Regions from separate parts of the Homo sapiens genome. Here regions 1 and 2 are each linked to region 3. Evidence: promoter capture Hi-C in 16 types of primary human blood cells and fetal thymus (Javierre and others, 2016). All regions are on one chromosome and are shown on one strand. The core of a region is centred on a gene start or on the middle of the fragment in contact, and the rest is flanking DNA. Distances in the headings are between cores, read along the strand shown.

Region 1 (3,247 bases), core at 391-2,890, 330 kb before region 3:
TGTAGGAGCTGCCCCGAGCATTGCAGGATGACTGGCAGCATACCTGGCCTCCACCCTCTAGAGGTCAACAGTCCCTTCCCCTCAGTCTCGACAAATTTTCACATGTTGTAGAAGGGACCCGGTGGGAGATAACTGAATTACAGGGGAAGTTTTCCCCCATACTATTCTTACGGTACTATTCTTATGGTATTCTTATTCTTATTCTTATTCTTATAATGAATAAGCCTCAAGAGATCTGATGGCTTTATAAGGGGAACACCCTCTCACTTGGTTCTCATTCTCTCCTGTCTGCCGCCATGTAAGAGCCTTCTGCCATGATGGTGAGGCCTCCCATCCACATGAAACTGAGTCCATGTAAACCCTTTTTTTCCTTTATAAATTACCCAATCTCCCGTATGTCTTTATTAGCAGCATGCAAACGGACTAATACAGGCGGTAAGCTAGCAAATCCTCTAGGCAGATTACCGATGATCAGGGCAACCTATCCCATCCTTGAACTGGACACAAGGCACATGGTCTCATCAGGCTCTCCAGGAAAGATCAGCACACAAGCCCAACTCCTCTTGGTGAGGCATAACTGAGAAGGAAATACATTCTAAAATCTTCAGCCAACAAAGTCAGCATCCTGGTGTCCTATGCTTCCCCCAGCATAACTCTGGGGTTACTAGACTCCCTTTGTCAACTTCTCCCCACTACATCTGGAGTACTCTAAGGGCAAGGTCCACATCGCATTCACAGTTACAGACTCAGGGCCGCGGCAGGCAGGCATTTTAATACATAGCTGTTGTATGAATGCATCCCCTCCTCAATGAACATCTCATTAGAGCTACCAGCAGTACTGAGCCTAGTGTTATCAAAATTACCAAAGTAGATAACCTAGTATTACTTAAATTGCCCAGTAAAATACCAGCTACAAGAAGTTGTGTAGACAGCCGGGTACAATAATTCTTATACAAACTAAAATTTAAGAACCATTAAAGGGAGAAACAAAAGGGAAGTCTAGGCAGGTGGCTAGACATTCTAATCATCATGCCTTCCAAAGTCACTATCAAATCCCAGGTGGTGGGTAAAGAATGGGCAGAGAATGCTATACCGTTCCTGCTTGCCTGCTGGCTTGACTTTATTCCATTCCAAAAATATGGGAATTGTTCCATGTTTAATATTAAGATTCTATCACCTCGATATGCATGTTAAGTGGTGTGTTTATAGTTGAGTGGATTAAATAAAGAGGAATCACTTCTTCTAGAGTTAGGTACTGAAGTCTGTATAGCAGTAACATCTGACTCTATAACCCGTGAACAAGCCCACTCTTCCACTAAATGTCTCCGTAGGTTGGGTGGCATTTTGAAGACGACAGACAGAAATCGCTTTGACTCCCACCTAGAAACTCATCTCTCTACACATTGTTCTATGCCCCAAGTTCAACATGCCTCTTGCTGTAGTCTCTTAAAGATCTGTTACATCTCTACAGGTTTTTCCATACAGCTTAATTAATTCTTTCGGTTCCACAAAGGTCCCAAATACCTGATCACTTTTTGTTGTTTTTTCTGAATTTCCCATATAGTTTTTTAGTTTTGGGTGACTGCAATGGCTTTGAACCTTTTAATGCTCTTTGTAGTCTTTCTGTTGCACAGTAAACCCTACTGAGAAAAAAATTAAGCCTGTATGGCCATTCCTGTAGAAGCTGTGTGTTGGGGAAACGAACACACTTGCCCTGGTGAACCGTGTGTCCCCTCCCCTACTGCACTCACAAGCCCAACAGATGGGCCAGTGGAGGCCAGGGCAGATCAATGGGAGAGAAACACCAAACAGCTGGAGAAACGATCTGCTTCCACTCCTCAGCCCCTTCCTTCCTCACCAGAAAAGCTGTCCTCTGTCCCGCTAAGTCATTATCTACTGATGATGGATAATGGGTTTATAATGATGATGGGGATAGTGGAAAGGGAGCTGTTCATCTCATATTTTTAATGTTGAGTTGTCTCTGATAGAAAAAGACATAGACCACATTTTCCCCTTGCATTAGGTTAGGCAGAAAGGGAAAGGGCTTCAGGAGGATCACCCACTGAAAGCAGCCCTTCCCTCTTGGCACTGCTGTCTTCCTGGAGCCCTCTAGTCTTCACTTTTTTTTTCTTTTTCTTTTTTTGAGATGAAGTCTCACTCTGTCACCCAGGCTGGAGTGCAGTGGCACAATCTCAGCTCACTGTAACCTCCGCCCCCCGGGTTCAAGTGATTCTCCTGCCTCAGCCTCCCGAGTAGTTGGGATTACAAGCAGGCACCACCTTGCGTGGCTAATTTTTGTATTTTTAGTAGAGATGGGGTTTCACCATGTTGGCCAGGCTGGTCTCGAACTCCTGACCTCAGGTGATCTGCCCACCTCGGCCTCCCCAAGTGCTGGGATTATAGGCGTGAGCCACCACACCTGGCCTAGTCTTCACTTTTGAGAACACCGCCCTGCATGGTACACTGAACCTCAGAAGGGGCCACCGAAATAGGCTTTGGGTAAAAGTTTTGCTCTTCTCTTCTTTGTGCTACCATCCTTCTTATGCCAAACAGACTGAAATTGTCTCAATACCTTTAGTGTCTAGGTCAAGGAATACATGAAGTCGGTGGTGTGGTCAGCTGACATTATTCAGGATGTATGAGTGTCCAGGTTTGCTGAAGCCAGTCTTTGTTTCCCATGGGAGCAGCAGTGGTGGGCACATGTCCCCCCACCTGCCCTACACTGGAGGGTCTGGATGGATGGGTATATGGTGGGGGTGTCATTTCAGGTTCCCGTATCAGGGACCTGATGGCCATTCTGAAGACAGCCCGGGGCCTAAGAGGAAGTTTGTGGCTTCAGAAATGAGGGAACACGGTGTGTTCAGAACAGAACATGCAAGCACTCAGCAGAAAGAGAATAAACAGAGAATGGAATCCAGTGTGGAGGCTCAGTATTTCATTTTCTGTACACGCTAGCCATGTATGCTAATCTCAGCAACAATTCAGCCCATTTACTTGACAGGTGGGGAAATGTGCTATTAGCTACGGTTGGCTTGCAATATAATGGAAACTTGCAGAGAAAAGTCTTTGCTTTCCCAGTGTCTGGCATTGACATCATGAAGGCTAGGGGACAGCTGCCAGAAGGAGTGGCAGACAGGCGCCTAGAGCAGGCATGGGGCTGGGCACCGTGGACACGCACTTTACTCACTCTTCTTCACAGCCCTGAGTGACAGGTGTTATTATTTGCAGTAAATTAATGAAGATACTA
Region 2 (3,154 bases), core at 138-2,637, 440 kb before region 3:
AGTGCCTCTTAGAGGAATCCCATAATGGGTAGAAATGACCAGGCTCTGGTATCCCCACCATGTTCAATAACTAAATGCTGCCTTTGGAGAGTACTGAAAGCTGCTATGAATCTGGAACATGTGATAACTGAAAACTATCAGGTAACTGCACTCTTCTTGGCTGACTAGCAAGTTCTTCCTGAAAGGAGATCAAAGCCATGCATTTCCATGACTAACACATTTGGTAAATCTGTTTTCCATGGCATTTGTCTATTTCATCCTTAATTTTCTTTCTTTTTTTTTTTCTTTTTTTTTTTTGAGACAGAGTCTCACTCTGTTGCCCAGGCTGAAGTGCAGTGGCATGATCTTGGCTCACTGCAACCTCCACCTCCCTAGCTCAAGCAATCCCCTAACTCAGCCTACCAAGTAGCTGGGACTACAGCCACAAGGCGTCACACCCAGCTAATTTTTGAATTTTGTTGTAGAGATAGGTTTTTGCCATGTTACCCAGGCTGGTCTTGAACTGCTGGGCTCAAGTGATCCACCTGCCTTGGCCTCCCCAAGTGCTAAAACATTAAATTTATTAATGTAAAATTATTTGCAATATTCTTTTATTTTATTTCTAATGTCAGTATGATTTGTAGTGATATTCCCTCTTTTATCCCTGGTGTTGATATTTGGATTTCTCTTTTCTTTTTTTTCCTAATAAATATTTGGCTTTAATTTTCTGTATTATTTGCCTGTTTCCTATTTCATTGGTTAGTATTCTTATTATTCTTTTTTTCTACTTAATTCACATTTTTTAAAGCTTCTTAAGTAAAAACTTAGACCATTTTTTTTTAAACCATCCTTCCTTTTCAACATAGATATTTAATGCTACAAATTTCCCCCTAAGCACAGCTTCAGCTGCATTCACAAATTTGGGTATGTTGTATTTTCATTACCATTCAGTTAAAATATTTCATAATTTCAACTGAGTTATTCCTTGACTCTTTGATAGTATGAAAGAGTGTTTTCTAATTTCCAAACATCCGAGGCTATTCGGCTATTTTATTGTTACCGACTTCTAATTTAATTTCCTTGTGATCAAAGAACATAATCTGTGTAATTTTAATCATTTGAAAATTCTTGAGCCTTACTATGGACTATTTTGATGAACATTCCATGTGCATTTGAAAATAATGTATATTTTGCTGTTATTGAGTCTGATGCTTTATAAATGACAATTAAGGCAAGACCTTTGATAGTGTTGATCAAATCATCTATATCCTTAACATTTTGCCTAGTTTTCATACCAGTTAGGAAAGACTGGTCTTAAAATCATCAACTATGCTGATGGGTTTGCCTCTTTTTCTCCTTAGTAGTCAGTGTTTGCTTCACGTATTTTAAAACTTTATTATACACATGTATAATAATTTTAAATGTGCATACACATTTAAAATTTTTAGGTGCATACACATTTAAAATAAAAAGGAGGATTAAATCTTCTTAATGAGGCGACCATTTTTATTACTAATTATCCCTCTTTAACTCTGATAACATATTGCTTTCAAGTCTTATCTTTCCTGATAATAAAACCATTCAGTTTTATTATTATTAGCATTTGCATGGTATATGTTTTTCCATCCTTTTATTTTCAACGTACATGTGCCCTTGTCTTTATAGTACATCTCTTATAAACAGCATAGAGCTGGGCCATGCTTTTTAAAAAATTTCATCTGACAATCTAAACCTTTTCATTGAGCTGCTTAGTCTATTTACATTTAATGTATTGATATGATTAGATTGAAGTCAACCAACTTGTTTTCTGTTTGTCTTAACTATATTTTATTCTACTTCTCTTTCCTTACCTTCTTTTGAATTAATCAAATTTTTTTAGTAGTCTGATTTAATCCCTCCTTTGTGTTTTGGCCTATGCTTCCTTGCACTGTTTTTAGTTGTGACTCTGTGTATTACAATGTGCACCATTAGTATATTAATGTCTACTTAAACGGAAGATTATACACTAGGAAGCTTGCTGTAGTGTAGTTGCTCTTATACCTCCATCCTTTGTGCTCTCATTGTCATACATATTGCATCAACATATGTCATAAACCCTACCAAACAGTATTATAATTTTTGCTTTATATAGTTACAGCCTTTTAAAGAAATTTAAAGGAAAGTAAAACTACATTTTGTCTTTTTATATTACCCACATATTTAGTTTCTGTTGTTCTTCATATTTTCCTACAGATCTGAGTATCTATCTACTATCATGTCTCTCCAGTGTGAAGAACTTGCTTCATATATCTCCATCATTATTTTCTTCTGTAATTATTTCCTCAAATATTTGCCTTCCCCATTCTTTTTCCTCTCCTTTTGGGACTCCAATTAAATGTATTTCAGATAACTTATTATCTCACAGGTCAAGTACTCATTATTCATTTTATCAACTTTTCAGATTAGGTAACTTACACTGATACATCTTCAAGGCTACTATCTCTTCTTCTGACATCTTCAACCTCATACAGTAAAATTTTCACTTTATTGTGCTTTTCAATTTTATAACTGACATCTGGTTATTTTTATGGTTTCAATTTCTCTATTAAGACTCCCCATCTGTGCATTCATTACACTCATACTTTTCTTTAGTTTTTAACATATTTATAAAAGTTTTTAAAAAACCTTCATCTGCTAATTCCAACATCTGGGTCATCTCAGGGCCAGTTTTTACTACCTACATTTTTTCTTAACTATAGGTCGTCTTTTCCTATTTCCTTACATACCTAGCACATTTTTATTATATACTGGATATTGTGAACAAAACACTGTCAATATTCAGATATCAGTTTTGTTCCTCTGAAGAGTGATAATTTTTGTTCTAGCAGGAAGTAAAAATCTAAATTCTGAAGTGAGTGACAGCTGACATCTTTGCTCAGATCTTTAAGTTGCTGTTTTTACCATTAAAGTGTGCATTTGCACTTCAGTGATCAGCAGTGGACTGCGACAGGGTTTACATGTGGATGTGGAGTCTCCTACTCTCTGAGCTTCTCGTCTTTCATAGATTCCCTCTAATTAGCTAGCTGCTCTGCAGTCCCAAACTACATCTTCTTAGTAACTTACTAAGACTGAGGCTCTCTGCCACCCCATGCTGCCTGGATGAGTAGGTGTTCTCAGAGAAAAAGCTTCAAACATA
Region 3 (3,186 bases), core at 482-2,981:
TCAGCAACAATCTTCTCTACAACTAATAAAGCTTGAAATATCTCTAGCATGAGTTATTTTGAAGCAGATAGCATTTTAACTCATATGGCAGAAAGAACGCACATCTGCTGAAATTGAAGAGTTTCCTGATGCAGAGGCCTTCTCTTCAAACTAAGAAACAAAGTTGGAAGCACTTAGAACATTATGTTTGGAGTAAGAAATGTGAATACTGATGAAAACAGAACTGCAAAAATTTCGCCTAAAATAATGAGTGTTTTAGCACTGTAAAGAATACCAGGAATCACCCCAAATTACCAAAGTTATCATTCTACTTAGGGACCTTAAAATAGAAAGAACCCAGGGCCAGTATCATTTTGATGCCTTTTAAAATTTCTTTTTGAAATAGTGAAATGTCACAATGGATTTTAAAAATAGGGGAATGTTGAAAATGTTGATATTTAATAAATTAGTACTTTTTAATTGACCAATTTCTATATAATATTAACATGCTGTCTACATCAGGAGTTCTCAACCCCTGGGCCACAGACCAGCAGTGGTTCGTGGCCTGTTAGGAACTGGGCTGTACAGAAGGAGCGGAGCAGTGCACGAGTGGGCCAGCAAAGTTTCGTCTATATTTACAGCTGCTCCCCATCACTTGCATTACTGCCTGAGCTCCACCTCCTGTTAGATCAGCAGCGGCATTAGATTCTCATGGGAGCATGAACCTTATTGTTGAATTGTCCATGCTAGGGATCTAGGTTGCAGTGTTCCTTATGAGAATCTAATGTCTGATGATCTATCATTGTCTTCCATCACCCCCAAATGGGACCATCTAGTTGCAGAAAAACAACCTCAGGGCTTCCACTGATTCTACATTATGATGAGTTGTATAATTATTTCATTATATATTATCATGTAATAACAATTGAAATAAAGTGCGCAATAAATGTAATGTGCTTGAATCATCCAGAAAACATCCCCACCCCTGTCTGTGGAAAAATTGTCTTCCATGAAACCTTTCCCTGGTGCCAAAAAAGGTTGGGGACCACCGATTTACATAATTAGAAAGTTTATAAAATCCTAATTTATAGAGTGGTCATCAAATGGTAGGAAAGTTCAAGCAGTTTGAGGAACTGATGTTTTTTTTTCTCAATACTTGCAGTGCATCTCTATGACTGTATGGGCAGCTTCTTCTGGAGATAATGTTGACAGTCTAAAAAGTTAAGCTGTGACGATTTACTCCCCTCCCCTGCCCCTATAGCACACTCTGATTTTAAATATTTTCTCTCTTAATTCTAATTAAATGACATAATTATAGTGCCATATCCCAGTCAATGCCATTTATCAGTGACAGCTAATTAACACAATTATAAAAGTGGGAGCCCTAAGTTACCAGTGAGGTATAGAGCAACTCTGGAAATTTTCTCCTTACTGAAAGGAAATATTACACATATTCCTTCACCAGAAGAACAATACACAGTTTACCTTCCCTTTTTGTTTTTGATAATACCACTTTGTTCCCCATTCTCTACAAAATTTAGTTTGAAGAACATTTTAAAAACTTGATTCATCGTAGTCATCAATCCTTCATAAATATTTCTTGACAATTGGCCTCTCTGTAGTTTGCAACCTGGACTACTCATGTTTAAGAGCTTGGTTTTTCAAGACTATTGTGTTTCAAATGGTTTTGAGGTTTTATGGTCTGTTGACATTCTGAGGAACTTAGAACACATTCACTTCCTTTTGCTTGGTGAGCTGTCCAGAGCCTTTGCAAATGCATGCAGAGCATGGAAATGACCCAGCTGCCCTGCTGTTGAAACAGAATCCTATTTGGAAGGCAGACATGTGGCCCATCTCTGTAGCCATCACTGAGAAATCTGGATTTTCAAGGTAAGTGCAGATGACTTAGGTTTGGGGAGACATGAATGAAAGTGCTATAGAAATAAAGCACACTTAATTTGTTGGCATAGTCCTAATTCAGAATCTTCAAATGGTTCTGCTCTAAAAAGCAAGCTTATTCTCTGACCACAACTCCTCCTTTATAGAAAGAATTGTTCTATTCTTACTGCTTAGGATATGCTGCTCTGAAAGTAAAACCTAATATTTATGGGTAAATGTGAACAAAAATGATTTCAGAATCTCTCTGTCAAAAAACCAGCTAAACATATCATAGAATTTTTTAGAGCAGTTGGCACTATTGAATTTGTGTATAATTATTCAAATGCTTATCTTTTAAGTGATGTCTTAATTTCCTTTTGTTATGAAAATCCTTTAACTCTATTACTGCATTATTTTCAGATAGAGTTTGAAACTATTCAGGCAGCCCTAGTCAATAGAAGGAAACAATCTGTAAGCAATCAAGTACTTAGAAATTTCTAAAAGAAGTATATTCAAAATAACATGTGAAATAATGGTAATTATAATTCTTTCCATCCCACTTTTAAAGTACTACTTAACAGGAAGGATCTGAAAATAACTTCTTAAATAAGATAAATAAAAAGAACAACATCTGTTCAAATAATTTTACTTTAAGTAAAATACTTTCTATACCAGTATTTTCTACTTCCAAGAAGTAATATTTTTCAAATATGTGGAATGAAATATAATGCAAAGTTTTTAAACAATAAGTCAGTAATGCCTAACCTGAATATAGGCATTTAATTTTGTTTCTTTTACAAATTTGTTATATGACTTTTGATAGGTCACTTAATTCTCTGGACTTCAGCGTTCTACATAACTGCACAATTACTTATCTGAGAAATTACTTATTAAGTACTCCAGAATTACATGTCTTTGTTTTCTGTTTTATTGGGTTTAAATCAGTTAATTAGGATTTTAATCAGTCAATAGAAGTAATGGGAAGACCAATGGATGAGGAATCAGGTGGTGTGAATTCTAGTCCTCTGTTTTCTAGTAATTGGCTGCATAATTTGGGGGAATATTGTCTAAGGATTCCAGACCAGGGGTTGGCAAACTTTTTCTACAAAAGCCTTGATAGTAAATATTTTAGGCTTTGCAAGCCAAGAGGTAGAACTGAGGCTAATATATTGGTACTTACATAACCATTTAAAACTATAAAAACCATTCGTAGCTCACAGGCTGTATAAAAACAAGAAGTGAGCCAGCTTTGGCTTAGGTGACACAATTTTCCAACTATTCTTCTAGCAATGATTTTCAACAATTATAAAATGGAAGTTGTAGACTGGA

Evidence for each region. Contacts are between HindIII fragments. The CHiCAGO score rates a contact against its expected background, and 5 or more counts as called.
Region 1: a fragment that was not itself captured here is called in contact with the fragment with the promoter of GPR141 in region 3 in 1 of 17 cell types (neutrophils); the score reaches 5.9 in neutrophils.
Region 2: a contact is called between a fragment that was not itself captured here and the fragment with the promoter of GPR141 in region 3, in 1 of 17 cell types (megakaryocytes). The highest score is 5.9, in megakaryocytes.

What each region holds. Positions count from the first base shown.
Region 1 is chr7:37,347,329-37,350,575 of GRCh38, forward strand. All of the region lies in intron 1 of ELMO1 (engulfment and cell motility 1), which reads right to left. Among named protein-coding and RNA genes, the nearest start is that of ELMO1, 100 kb to the right of the region's middle. The HindIII fragment of the contact is 4,249 bases long and covers 1-3,247 here.
Region 2 is chr7:37,239,760-37,242,913 of GRCh38, forward strand. All of the region lies in intron 7 of ELMO1 (engulfment and cell motility 1), which reads right to left. Among named protein-coding and RNA genes, the nearest start is that of ELMO1, 210 kb to the right of the region's middle. The HindIII fragment of the contact is 1,205 bases long and covers 786-1,990 here.
Region 3 is chr7:37,682,035-37,685,220 of GRCh38, forward strand. It overlaps GPR141 (G protein-coupled receptor 141), which reads left to right and starts at 1,732. Exons shown (of 3, transcript NM_001381946.1): 1 at 1,732-1,869. The HindIII fragment of the contact is 1,961 bases long and covers 30-1,990 here.